Linked DNA regions of Homo sapiens: regions 1 and 2 are each linked to region 3. The links are contacts of gene promoters, found by promoter capture Hi-C in human tissues and cell types (Jung and others, 2019). All regions are on one chromosome and are shown on one strand. Each heading gives the region's core, a stretch centred on a gene start or on the middle of the fragment in contact. The rest is flanking DNA. Distances are from core to core; before and after follow the strand shown.

Evidence for each region. Contacts are between HindIII fragments. The study calls those that stand out against the background at their distance.
Region 1: a fragment that was not itself captured here is called in contact with the fragment with the promoter of GPR26 in region 3 in 2 of the 25 tissues and cell types used here (H1 embryonic stem cells and mesendoderm cells).
Region 2: a fragment that was not itself captured here is called in contact with the fragment with the promoter of GPR26 in region 3 in 2 of the 25 tissues and cell types used here (adrenal gland and mesendoderm cells).

Annotation. Positions count from the first base shown.
Region 1 is chr10:123,613,071-123,616,923 of GRCh38, reverse strand. No RefSeq gene overlaps it. Among named protein-coding and RNA genes, the nearest start is that of GPR26, 51 kb to the left of the region's middle. The HindIII fragment of the contact is 3,152 bases long and covers 1-3,117 here.
Region 2 is chr10:123,711,517-123,714,928 of GRCh38, reverse strand. LOC105378532 (a long non-coding RNA gene) reads left to right here and starts at 1,442. Exons shown (of 5, transcript XR_946421.4): 1 at 1,442-1,481; 2 at 1,594-1,695; 3 at 2,240-2,315. The HindIII fragment of the contact is 3,748 bases long and covers 1-3,412 here.
Region 3 is chr10:123,664,861-123,668,335 of GRCh38, reverse strand. It overlaps GPR26 (G protein-coupled receptor 26), which reads right to left and starts at 1,981. Exons shown (of 3, transcript NM_153442.4): 1 at 1,261-1,981. The coding sequence starts at 1,928. RefSeq lists enhancers at 1,159-1,696, 1,697-2,235, 2,236-2,773. The HindIII fragment of the contact is 11,073 bases long and covers 1-3,475 here.

The DNA of each region.
Region 1 (3,853 bases), core at 292-2,791, 51 kb after region 3:
ATGCAAGTGAGGTCACCTTGGATTCTCTGGTGGCAGGTGAGCTGCCCTATTGGTACCAAGTGCAGGAGAGAGGAACCTTCCCCACAAGTCTTGCACAAACATAGAATCACAAACAATAAAATGGTTGCTATTTTAAGCCACGAAAATTTGCGGTGGCTTGTTACACAGCAATAACTAATTGAAGGACTCCTTTTTTTTTTTGCTTTTATTTAAAATTTTTGTAGTTTTAAATTGTGATCAAATATACACAACATAAAATTTACCACTGTCTTAGTCTGTTCAGCCTTCTGTAACAAGACGTCATGAACTAGGTGGCTTAAAAACAACAGAAGTTGGCCGGGCATGGTGGCTCACACCTGTAATTCCAACACTTTGGGAGGCCAAGGCAGGTGGATCACCTGAGGTCAGGAGTTTGAGACTAGCCTGGACAACATGGTGAAACCCCATCTCTATTAAAAATACAAAAATTAGCCAGGTGTGGTGGCGCACCCCTGTAATCCCAGCTACTCAGGAGGCTGAGGCAGGAGAATTGCTTGAACCCAGGAGGCAGAGGTTGCAGTGAGTGGAGATCATACCATTGTGCAATGGTATTGTTCCCAGTCTGGGGAACAATAGCAAGACTTCATCTAGAAAAAAAAATTATTTCACACAGTTCTAGAGGCTGGGAAGTCAAAAATCAAGATGTCAGTGAATCTGGAGTCTGAGGAGGTCTTTCTTCCTGGTTCATGGATGGCACTCTGGGGCCTCTTTTATAAGGGCACTAATCCCACTCATGAGGGACCCCCCAGAGGCCCCACCTCCTAATACCATCACGTTGGTCATTAGGTTTCAACAGTCTAGTTTGGGGGAGACACAATCATTCAGACCATAGCACAATCTTAACTATTATTAAGTGTACATTTTCAGGTTCTGTGGCATTAAGTACATTCATGTTGTTATGCAACTGAAGAACTCTTATATATGCTCTAAATGTGTCTTCATGGAGCTACTGCAAAAAAAAATGCATGGGGCACAGATGCCTGCAAATGTTTTAACACATCATCAGGGATAAATGTGCATCAATTCTGCTTGATGTAAGGGTTTCTTCCCTAGTTCTGTATTCTGGGAGGAAAGTGGAAGAGGATGGGAAACTTCCTGGAAATGAGCAACCCAGGGCTGCACAGTGAGCCACCAACCTCTTTCCAGGTGAGCCTGGGAAATGCCAGAGATTTGCTTTTCTGCTGGACAAAGCTGGACAAAGCCTGGTTAGGTTTTGCTGTTTAAGCTTCATATCCCTTACAAATACTGGCAGATTTTGGCCTTACCTCACATAACATCAATCTTAGTTCTCAATATTGTTGTGACGGGTTGTTTCTTTTCCAGGCTTTGCGAGTATTTGAAGCAGAGATTTAGAAATATTGTTTAAAGATCTGTAGCCAGATGACATTTTTCCATTTGGGGAATTTAAAGATTCTTTTGTTACTCATCCCACTTTTTCTATCAATGTTAAACATTTTTCAGGAGCTCCTGACACTATGTGTGCTAAGATCTTGGCGAAGGGGCTCTCAGTTGGATCTCTGCCTGAGCCCAGGGGCGATCTAGGCCCTGGACAAAGTGGACACTAGTGAGAAAAAGCACAGAGACCTGAAAGAACATCTCCATCACCAGCCCGCAGAGACCCGAATCGCCCAGGCAGAGCCCACATCCACTGCCAGCCCTTCGCTGCAGACATCACCATGTTTCTAAGCCCATTCAAGACAGTTACCTGCAGTGGCTGGAGCTAGCCAGGATCCGGAGATAGCGGCGCTTTCCTATTCCTCAATATGAAGCAACAGGGGAGCTGTCCATGGTGCTGACCACAACCCCACATTACTGCACCGCGTCACCTGGATCCTGTCTGCTCACCGAGCTTGCTGCCTGCTTATTTAAGCAAGTCTTGGTCCTCATTTCTGTTCTAATATCTGCCTGGCCCACCCCTGCTCTGAACTGTGGGTTAGCGAATCAGGCGGCTAATACCACACTTATCAATGACACAGGGCCCCATGCTGAGGTAGAGCCAGGTCATCAGAGTCACCTCCATAGTTGTCAAATGCTGTTCTGCATCGGACAAATGGCTTAGATTTTTGAAGCTGTACTTTCTTTATCTGAAAAGTGGTAACAATAACATGGTTTTGAAGAGTAAAATTAGATAATAAATGTGAAAAAACTGGCACATGGCACATATAATGCTTAAAACAGTAGAAAACCAATCAATATGAACTTCCTTTCTATTTCCTGATCTTTTCCAAATTCTTAAGAATTAGTTTGGGTCACTGTTCAAGTATTTCCCAGAGAAAAAGTAAAGGCAAAGCCCCATCAAAAGCTTTTTTTTTTTTTCAGAGTCATGGTCTCACTTTGTTGCTCAGGCTGGAGTGCAGTGGGATGACTGTAGCTCATTGCAGCCTTGAAATTCTGGGCAGGGGGATCACTTGATGTGATCTGGACTCAGGCCACCATCGACCTGGTCAATCCTCAGTATGGGGCAGTGGCCTGCATTGCACCCCATGCCTCTACTCTGGAGGTCTCTCCTCCAAGACAGCCAGCCTGCTGGGGGCCATCAACCAAAGCCTCCACCCTGGTAAAGTACCAAGTGGAGAATGTTGCCTGCCTCACCTGACAGATTTTAGAGCAGGGAACAAGTCAGCTAACGTCTAACAAACAGCTGAATGGGTTTCATCTAATGATGCCAATAAACTAACAATTGCTGAAATTTTTAAATCTTCCACTTCAAGTAGACTTGGTAAAATTATTCAAGCAAAGCCTCAAATCTTCCTCAACCCCAGGAGCAGAGCCTCACTCAGACTAGAAAGATTCTTTCCCCATTTTCATGAAGGTGATTTAAGGCAATTACCACTTTGGGGTTTTACTTGGCTGTTAAAAATATATATAGTTCAACAGCAAATAAGCAAAACTTTGTCAAGCGATTTAAGTGTTTTTTACGTGCCAAGATTCATCTTATTCAATGAAGCAGAATTTGAGATCCCTCTGAGTGGGTCACATTTTTCAAACATTTAAAGATAGAGGACTTAATGAGGTTACCTTTCCCTCTCTTGTTGTCAAAGGCCCACAGGTAATCACATATAATATTTTGGGTTACTAATAAAACTCACAGTTGGAGGTAGGCTTGTGAAAAATAGGGCTGACCTCCTTCCCAAGCCCCAGGATGCTAGTGAAGCAGCCTTTCTGCAGATTTCCTGCTTCCTGCTGGAGGCCTGTTCTAGCCTCTGAAGCTGAGTCATCCGCCTGATGTCAGGTGCCAGACAAGGGATGTGTGGGAAGAAACACGAGCAGTGACCCATGATGTCTCGCAGGACCATTCTTGGCCAAAGTCAGAAGGCGTTGCCTGTGTGCTGTTCTCACTGTTCCTCAGGTGTGCTTTGAAGGCTGGGGGGACAATGCCAGGGCTTCCTGACGCTTCTATCAGGAGGAGATGTAGTCGAGAGGAATCTTGTCTGACAAGGGCCTGCTATGTCTGGTGGCTACGTGACACTGGCTGTGGACATCTACAGAGTCTGTTCCCTGGGTTGACTCCATTTTGCATCTGTCAGTCACACCCATTGCTGCCTTTTCTGACCTGGAACCTTTGCTATGTATTTGCCAAACCAACAGTGAAATGAAGATGGAAAAGTACATTGAGACCCATCTATTCATCTAGAATTTCTCAGTCTGAAGTTCCAATTCAGAAGGTGCAGGCTGAAGTCTTGGGCTCTGCATGATAAGAAAATTGCTCCCAGGTAATTCCTATGGAGGGTGTCTTCGCACTAAGTCAGCACACCTGAGAAAGGACCTTCAGGGCTGCAAATCAAGTTACTGCTTACCTCAGTAAAGTGAAACC
Region 2 (3,412 bases), core at 535-3,034, 47 kb before region 3:
TCCAAGAGGGACTATCTTTTTTAAAGCCTCCCCTAAAATATTGTTACCAGAAGTTGACCCTTGGAGAAGTTACATCATTGGTGTAATTCAAGAGACCTAAGGGAGAACATTTCATTTACAGTGCACCCAGGTCCTCAGTGCCCCCTAAGAGCTTGGCAGGAACAAACACAAGTCCTCCCAGGAAGGACACACTATGCGGTTACTCAGAACTCCCAGAAAAAGACTGCCAGTAAGTTTGAGTCCCCTGTTTACAATAATTACAAAATAGCAAGACGACAAGCCCTTTGAGCCAGAGTCAGACCAAACAACATATAACAGAACAGAGCTACGATGACACTTAATAATGAAAGTATGAATTCCAAATATACAGTAAGTATATACAGAAGGCACTGTTAACATAAGTAAGGTACAAGAGACTATAAAAAATGACCAGAAGCAAGAGTAAGTTTTGAAAATTGAAAATATAATTATAGGAATTAAGATCGTAATGGAGAAGTTTAAGATCAGAATTGACATAGCAGAAGAGATCACTGTGAAATGGAGGATAGATCTGAAGGATTTACCCAGAAACCATCAGAGGGACAAAAAGAGATAAAAAAATATATAAAGGAGAAATTAAGATGTGTAGAAGGTAAAGTAAGGCTAGTCAATAGATAGGTTTTGAAGTTCAAAGGAGATCGTGGCAAGAGTGGGGAAAAAATGATACTCAGTGAGATTACTGCTGAACATTTTCTGCAAATAATGGGAGGAAAAAAATCTGACTTCCTAAATCCTTTAAGCTGGTCTGCTAAAAAGAATCCACTTCTAGATGTGTGACAGTTAAACCTCAACACCAAAGACAAATAGAATGGCTTAAAGCAGCCTGAAAGAAGAGACAAATTACTAACAAAAGAAAAAAATGGTTATACTGGGAGCAGATTTCTCAATAGCAGCAAAAATATTATTCCATCATCTTTGGAAACCAGAAGATGGTGGAAAAACATCTTTGGATAAATAAAAGAACGTTAACCTTGTACAGCCAGTGAAACTGGCTTTCAAGAATAAGAGTGAATTACCTACATTTAGATAAAAACAGAACATTTACCACCCAGGGCTGGAACTAGGTGAGGCAAGTGAGGTGCCAGGAACATAAAATTTGAGAAGGACTCATTCTCAGTGATGTGAAGTTCAGGGTTAGTGCCTGAGAGTGAGGGTTAACACTGATATGGTTTGACTGTGTCCCCACCCAAATCCCATCTTGAATTGTAGCTCCCACAATTCCCATGTGTCATGGGAGGGACCCAGTGGGAGGTGTTTGAATCATGGGGACAGATCTTTCCCATGCTGCTCTTGTGTTAGTGAATAAGTCTCATGATCTGATGGTTTTATCAGGCAGAGTTTCCCTGCAGAAGCTTTCTCTTGCCTGCCGCCGTGTGAGATGTGCTTTTGCTCTTTCTTCATCTTCCACCATGATTGTGAGGCCTCCCCAGCCATATGGAACTGTGAGTCAATTAAACCTCTTTCCTTTATAAATTACCCAGTCTTGGGTATGTCTTTATCAGCAGCATGAGAACAGACTAATACAGACACATTTACTTTAATTTTACCTCCCAGGTGCCTCACTCTAGTCCTGACCCTGTTACCACCAAAATATCCCCACTGAGGAACTTCTAGTGAATATATTTCAAGAAGAAGGGAACTAACCCCAGGAAGAAGGTATGAGGTATAAAAAGAAATGAGTTAATGAAATACAAAATGTCTAGACAAGTGTAGATATTTTGAATGTACAAAAAGTAAGAAATGTTTAATATTTGGACTAAAAAGGGAAAGATGGAGCTGGACAGCCAGATGACAGTAGCATCTGAGCCAGGAGGGGATGACTGCTGTTAAAACAGTCAGCAATTCTCATATTGTACAAGAGGGTGATGATTGTCCTAAGATATGTGCTTGTTGGAATTTCTCTGGTAGCTGCTGAGTGCTGCTTCTTGCTGGACTTCCTCTGTGACCCTTGGCTTTCTCTGCCTTGCATTTTGGCCGCATGGGAACCTGGTTGCTCTCTCATCAGGGTCCATGGGCTCCTCCACATAAAAGGCCACATGACCTGCATCTTCAAGCCCCCCTCAGTGTCTTTGTAAACAGAATGTACCCAGAAAATATGTGTTTAACACCTTAGACTCACAGTTTTGGTGGTTTCTGTTGTTGTTGTTGTAGTTGTTGTTGTTTTTTGGCCCAAACTGAATGAAGTTGTTTATTCTGCTAGACTGAAAGCTTCATGAGGATAAACTGAGACTCTTCGCTATTGAAATTCTATTGCCAGGCGCATCCCCCAGCCCACAGTAAGTACTCAAAGAATCTTTCTTGAATGGCTTTATAACCATTTTTGATGGAGAAATGTAACATATGGGTATTACCCTTTGGTTTTTCATTTCTCTAGTCTACAGATATTTGAGCACCGATCACGATGGTTAATTTTAGGTGTCAACTTGTTTGGATTAAGGCATACCTAGAGAACTGGTAAAGCATTAATTTTAGGTGGATCTGTGAGAGTGTTTCCAGAGGAGATTGGTGTGTGAGTCAGTGGATTGAGTGGGGAAGATCAACCGTCAATGTGGGTAGGCACCATCCAGTCATCTGGAGGCCCGGAAAGAAAAAAAGGCAGAGGAATGGTGGATTCTTTCTCTCTCTCTCTCTCCTGGGGCTGGGAAACCCTTCTTCTCCTGCCGTTGGACATCAGAACTCTGGGCTCCTCGGCCTTTGGGCTCCAGGACTTACACCAGCCCTCCCTGGGTTCTCAGGCTTTTGTCCATGAACTGAGAGTGACACCATCAGCTTTCCTGGTTCTGAGGCCTTCGAACTTGGACTGAGCCACACTAGTGGCATCCATGGGTCTCCAGCTTGCAGATGGTCTATTGTGGGACCTCTCCATAATCGCCTGAGCCAATTCTCCTGATAAATCTCCTCTCATATGTCTATATTTTCTATTGATTCTATCTTTCTGGAGAAGTCAAATACACATACTACCTTCAAGCACTGTTCTAAGTACTACAGAGATAGGCAATGATGAGCAAAATATAGACATGATTCCTGTCTTTACAACCCTTGCTGTCTAGGCTCATGATTTTTAAACATTTCAACTGGTACACACTTACCACACAATGATAAAGATTTGATGTATCTTTAGTACATGACGTACTCTGATGTTTTCTATTTTATTCATGTTTTTTCCTAAATTAAAAGGGCTGTCACAACCTGCTAGTTGATTTTATGACCCATGACTGCTCAGATTATTCTTGCAGTTTGAAAACCATTGACCCAGTGCAGAGGTTCGGAATCTCTTCTCTGTCATGGATTCCTCAAAAACATATTTTACAATGCACAAAACAATGTATATAGGATTAGAAAGGAAACCCACTACCTTAAAGTGCAATTACAA
Region 3 (3,475 bases), core at 732-3,231:
CAGGGGGACAATGAACACGTGCACACTTGCCCTTCAATGTGTCGGCATTGTGAAGGTCAAGGACTGCTTGTTACTGCTCTCGTGCAGGAAATACTCAGAATGCTCAGCCTGACACCTCCAGCCTGTCCCCTTCAACCCTGGTGTGGAACATATCCACCAGAGGATAGAGCTTCCTCTGCCCCGAGGCTCCCCTGGGTTCCCAGGGTTCTCCCACACGGAAGGCCCTCGCTGGCCCTGTCAGAGCTCTCTGCCTGCCTCACCTGCGACACCATCTGGACCCCAGCACCCCCTTATCTAGGGTCCCAGGACACAGAGCAGGGAGCCTGCCTTCCCCTGGGACAACAGGATGTAAAATAGCAGAGTCCAGACGCTGCCAGCTGTTTCCCTCCTCGATTTCCTATTCTCCTGGGGAAAGCTGAGGTGAGCTCAGGACAGCGCAGCTAAGAGTTCCCTCCTTCTCTCCCTGACAGGCTCCTGCGATGGCAGGGGTTCCCAGAGGGTACCCATGCTTGCCCAGCTCCATCTGCCCTCCTGAGAACAGCAGCCAGCGTGACGACGGAGGTGGGGGCAGATTCAGCCCCAGGAGCCTTGGGGCACACTCCTTCTGCAGGAGCCTCTAGGCACCAAGTCAGGCAGACATTGGACAGTGCTCTCTGGGGAGGGCAGGAAGAGCCCCCCACCCCACCCCTCAGGGCCCACCACAGAGAAGGACGCAGCCCGAGTCCATCAGAATTCACACACACACACACACACACACACACACACACACACACAGTCGTGAGACAGAGGCAGCGCCACACACCCGAGAAGGGAAAGACTCAGAGAAGCGACACACTTGGGTCTGAAAAGCTCTTAAGGAGCTCCCTAAGCATCGAGGCCGCCCTCTCGGCCAGAATCAAACACTTTGAAGGTCTTTAATAGGGAACAAAGACCACGGACTTCCCATGTGCCATTTAAAGTGAAAGCTACAAACACAGAAAATGTGCATGAAGAAGCCCAACAGAGTTCTGACTGTCTGTGATTTCTACCCTGATGCTTCAAAAACCGATGTATAGATGGGCTCACCCGCATTTTTTGTGGCCCTGGTTTGCTGATACCCTAAGCACCTCCTTAAGCCCCACAGCTGGGCCGCTTTCCCCACCCTCGAGTTCTCAGAAGAAACAGAGGCTCGGTGGAAAAGAGCCCCTGGGGCTAGGGACCTCCCACTCCCGCCGAGATCCCGCGCGGCTGTTCCCAGAGCCTTAGCTGCGCTCGGCTCACCTGGGGTGCAGGTCCACCAGCAGCACCAGCGTCTGCATGGTGATCACGTCGATGCGCTTGCAATGGAAGCGGGCCACCTTGAGCACCTTGAGGTACGTGCAGCAGAGCACGACGAAGGAGAGCAGGAAGCTGAGAGCGTGGAAGGCGCCAGTGAAGACGGCGAAGCGCAGGCGCTCGTCTGGCCGCCGGCTGCACAGCGTGCACGAGGCGTACAGCTGGTGGAAGCCGAGCCAGGACAGGGCGAGCGCGGCGGCTGGGAAGGTGAGCGCGTGCAGCCACGTGTAGGCCACCATGAGCGCCGCGTCGCGGAGGCGCATCTTGGCCCGGTAGCTCAGCGGGAAGACCACGGCCACCCAGCGGTCGATGCTGAGCGCGGCCATGCTGAGCATGGAGTTGGCAGCCAGGAAGGTGTCGAGGAAGGCAGCCAGGCGGCACAGGCGGTCGCCCGCCGGCTGCCGCTGCGCCACGACGCCGGCCAGCGTGAGCGGCATGTTGACCACGGTGCACAGCAGGTTCCCGCACGTGAGGTTCAGGGTGAAGAGCGCCGGCGCCTGGCGGCGGATGTCCGCGCTGTGCAGCAGGCAGAGCAGCACCAGCGCGTTGGACAGCAGCGAGACGCCCATCGTGCCCACCAGTAGCCCCGCCAGGCCCGCGTCCCACGAGTTCATGGTGCGCGCCCCGCGCCGGCGCTCAGGGTCCGCAACCCGGCGCCGCCATGGCGCTGCCCGCGGCCGGCTCAGCCCCTCGGCGCCGCCGCCGCCCGGCGACCACCGGCCCCAGCCGCCATGGCTCCCAGGAGGGCGCGCGGCCACCCCGGAGCCTCAGGCGGCCTCCCGGGCAGGCGTCTGGGCGCGCAGCCACCCGGGAGCCCCGCGCCGCCTCACGGGCAGGCACCTGGCGCGCGGCAGTGAACCCTGGCCCCCAGCAGCACCTCTGGAGCCAGCGACTGAGCGTGCGGTAGAACCCGAAGCCTTTAGCGCCCCGGGATCCTGGGTTGCAGGCACCTGCGCCCCTGCTCCGCCTCTGCCTCTGCTTCCTCCCGCTCTCACCCCATGCCCGCGAGCTCTGTCTCCGCTCCGCTCCGCGCACCCTCCCGCTCTCTTGCTTTCTCTCTTCCTCCCTCTCTGCTCTCTGGCTCGCTCTCTCTCTCTCTGCTCTCCCCTCCACCTCTCTCCCTCTCCCCGCCCCCCGCGCTGTTCTCTCCGTCTGTCTCTCCCACCCCCAATTTTCTCCCCTCTCTTGTTCTTCCCCCTCCTCTTCTCTCTGTCTCTGGAATCTGGCTGCTTCTATCACAGAAATCCCCACTGGTGCACACACAGACACACTCGCGCACACACACTCACACTTACAGGCTCGGAGGGAACCAGCCCCGAAGGCTCCGGTGCAGGGTGATTGGCTCACTGTGGCTCCCTTCCCCCAACATCCTCCATCCCCCCGTGTGTGTCAAAGACAGGCTGAGTCAAGGAAATCTCTCTGAGAAAAGGAAGGGATGCCTGGACACCTTCACGCCCCAGTGCCACCTGTCCCCGCCTGCATGCTATCCTGGCAGACCTTGACGTGAGTGTCCCAGCCTGTCTGTCCCAAGAACAGCTGCTGCATGACTGAGGTTACTCGATTCTCAGTGCCTTCTTTCCCTCGCCCTACAGCCAGAGCTTCGGCTGAATCCTAAGCCTGCTGCAGGGACCCCGAGGCTCTCTGTAACATCCCCTGGGCATCTCTCCAGCTGGGAGATGCCTTTGCTGACCCTGACTGCTCCCACCTGGGCAAGCCAGGCTGTCCACAACCAGCCTAGACAGCTAACCCTAGTATGGTGGATACTCTGTTGTCCTGCTCCAAGTTCCAGCAGCTGCCTCCTGTAGCCCTGAAGCCACACACCCCTCTGCCCTGAGACTGGTGAGGCAGCACATTCTAGTTTATGAGGGACCTGCCTGATATAAGGTGCCAGAACTCTTCAGAAAATGGGGAGGGTGTCAGCTGGCAGGCATGGTCCAAGCAACAGAGACCCTGGACACAGGGGACCCCTGCCTCCCCTCAGCAAAGTGTGCAGGGACTGTGGCCCTTCGGTTCTCAACCAAGACTCTGTGGGGAAGGGGTGGGGATGGACAGGCAGGGGCAGCTCTCAGAACCCCTGCAGCCCCCTTCAACTCTGTGAGATGCTGCCCTGCAGTGACCCCCTGCACCATGTCAGCAACCTCAGATCCCTGTCCTGGACATA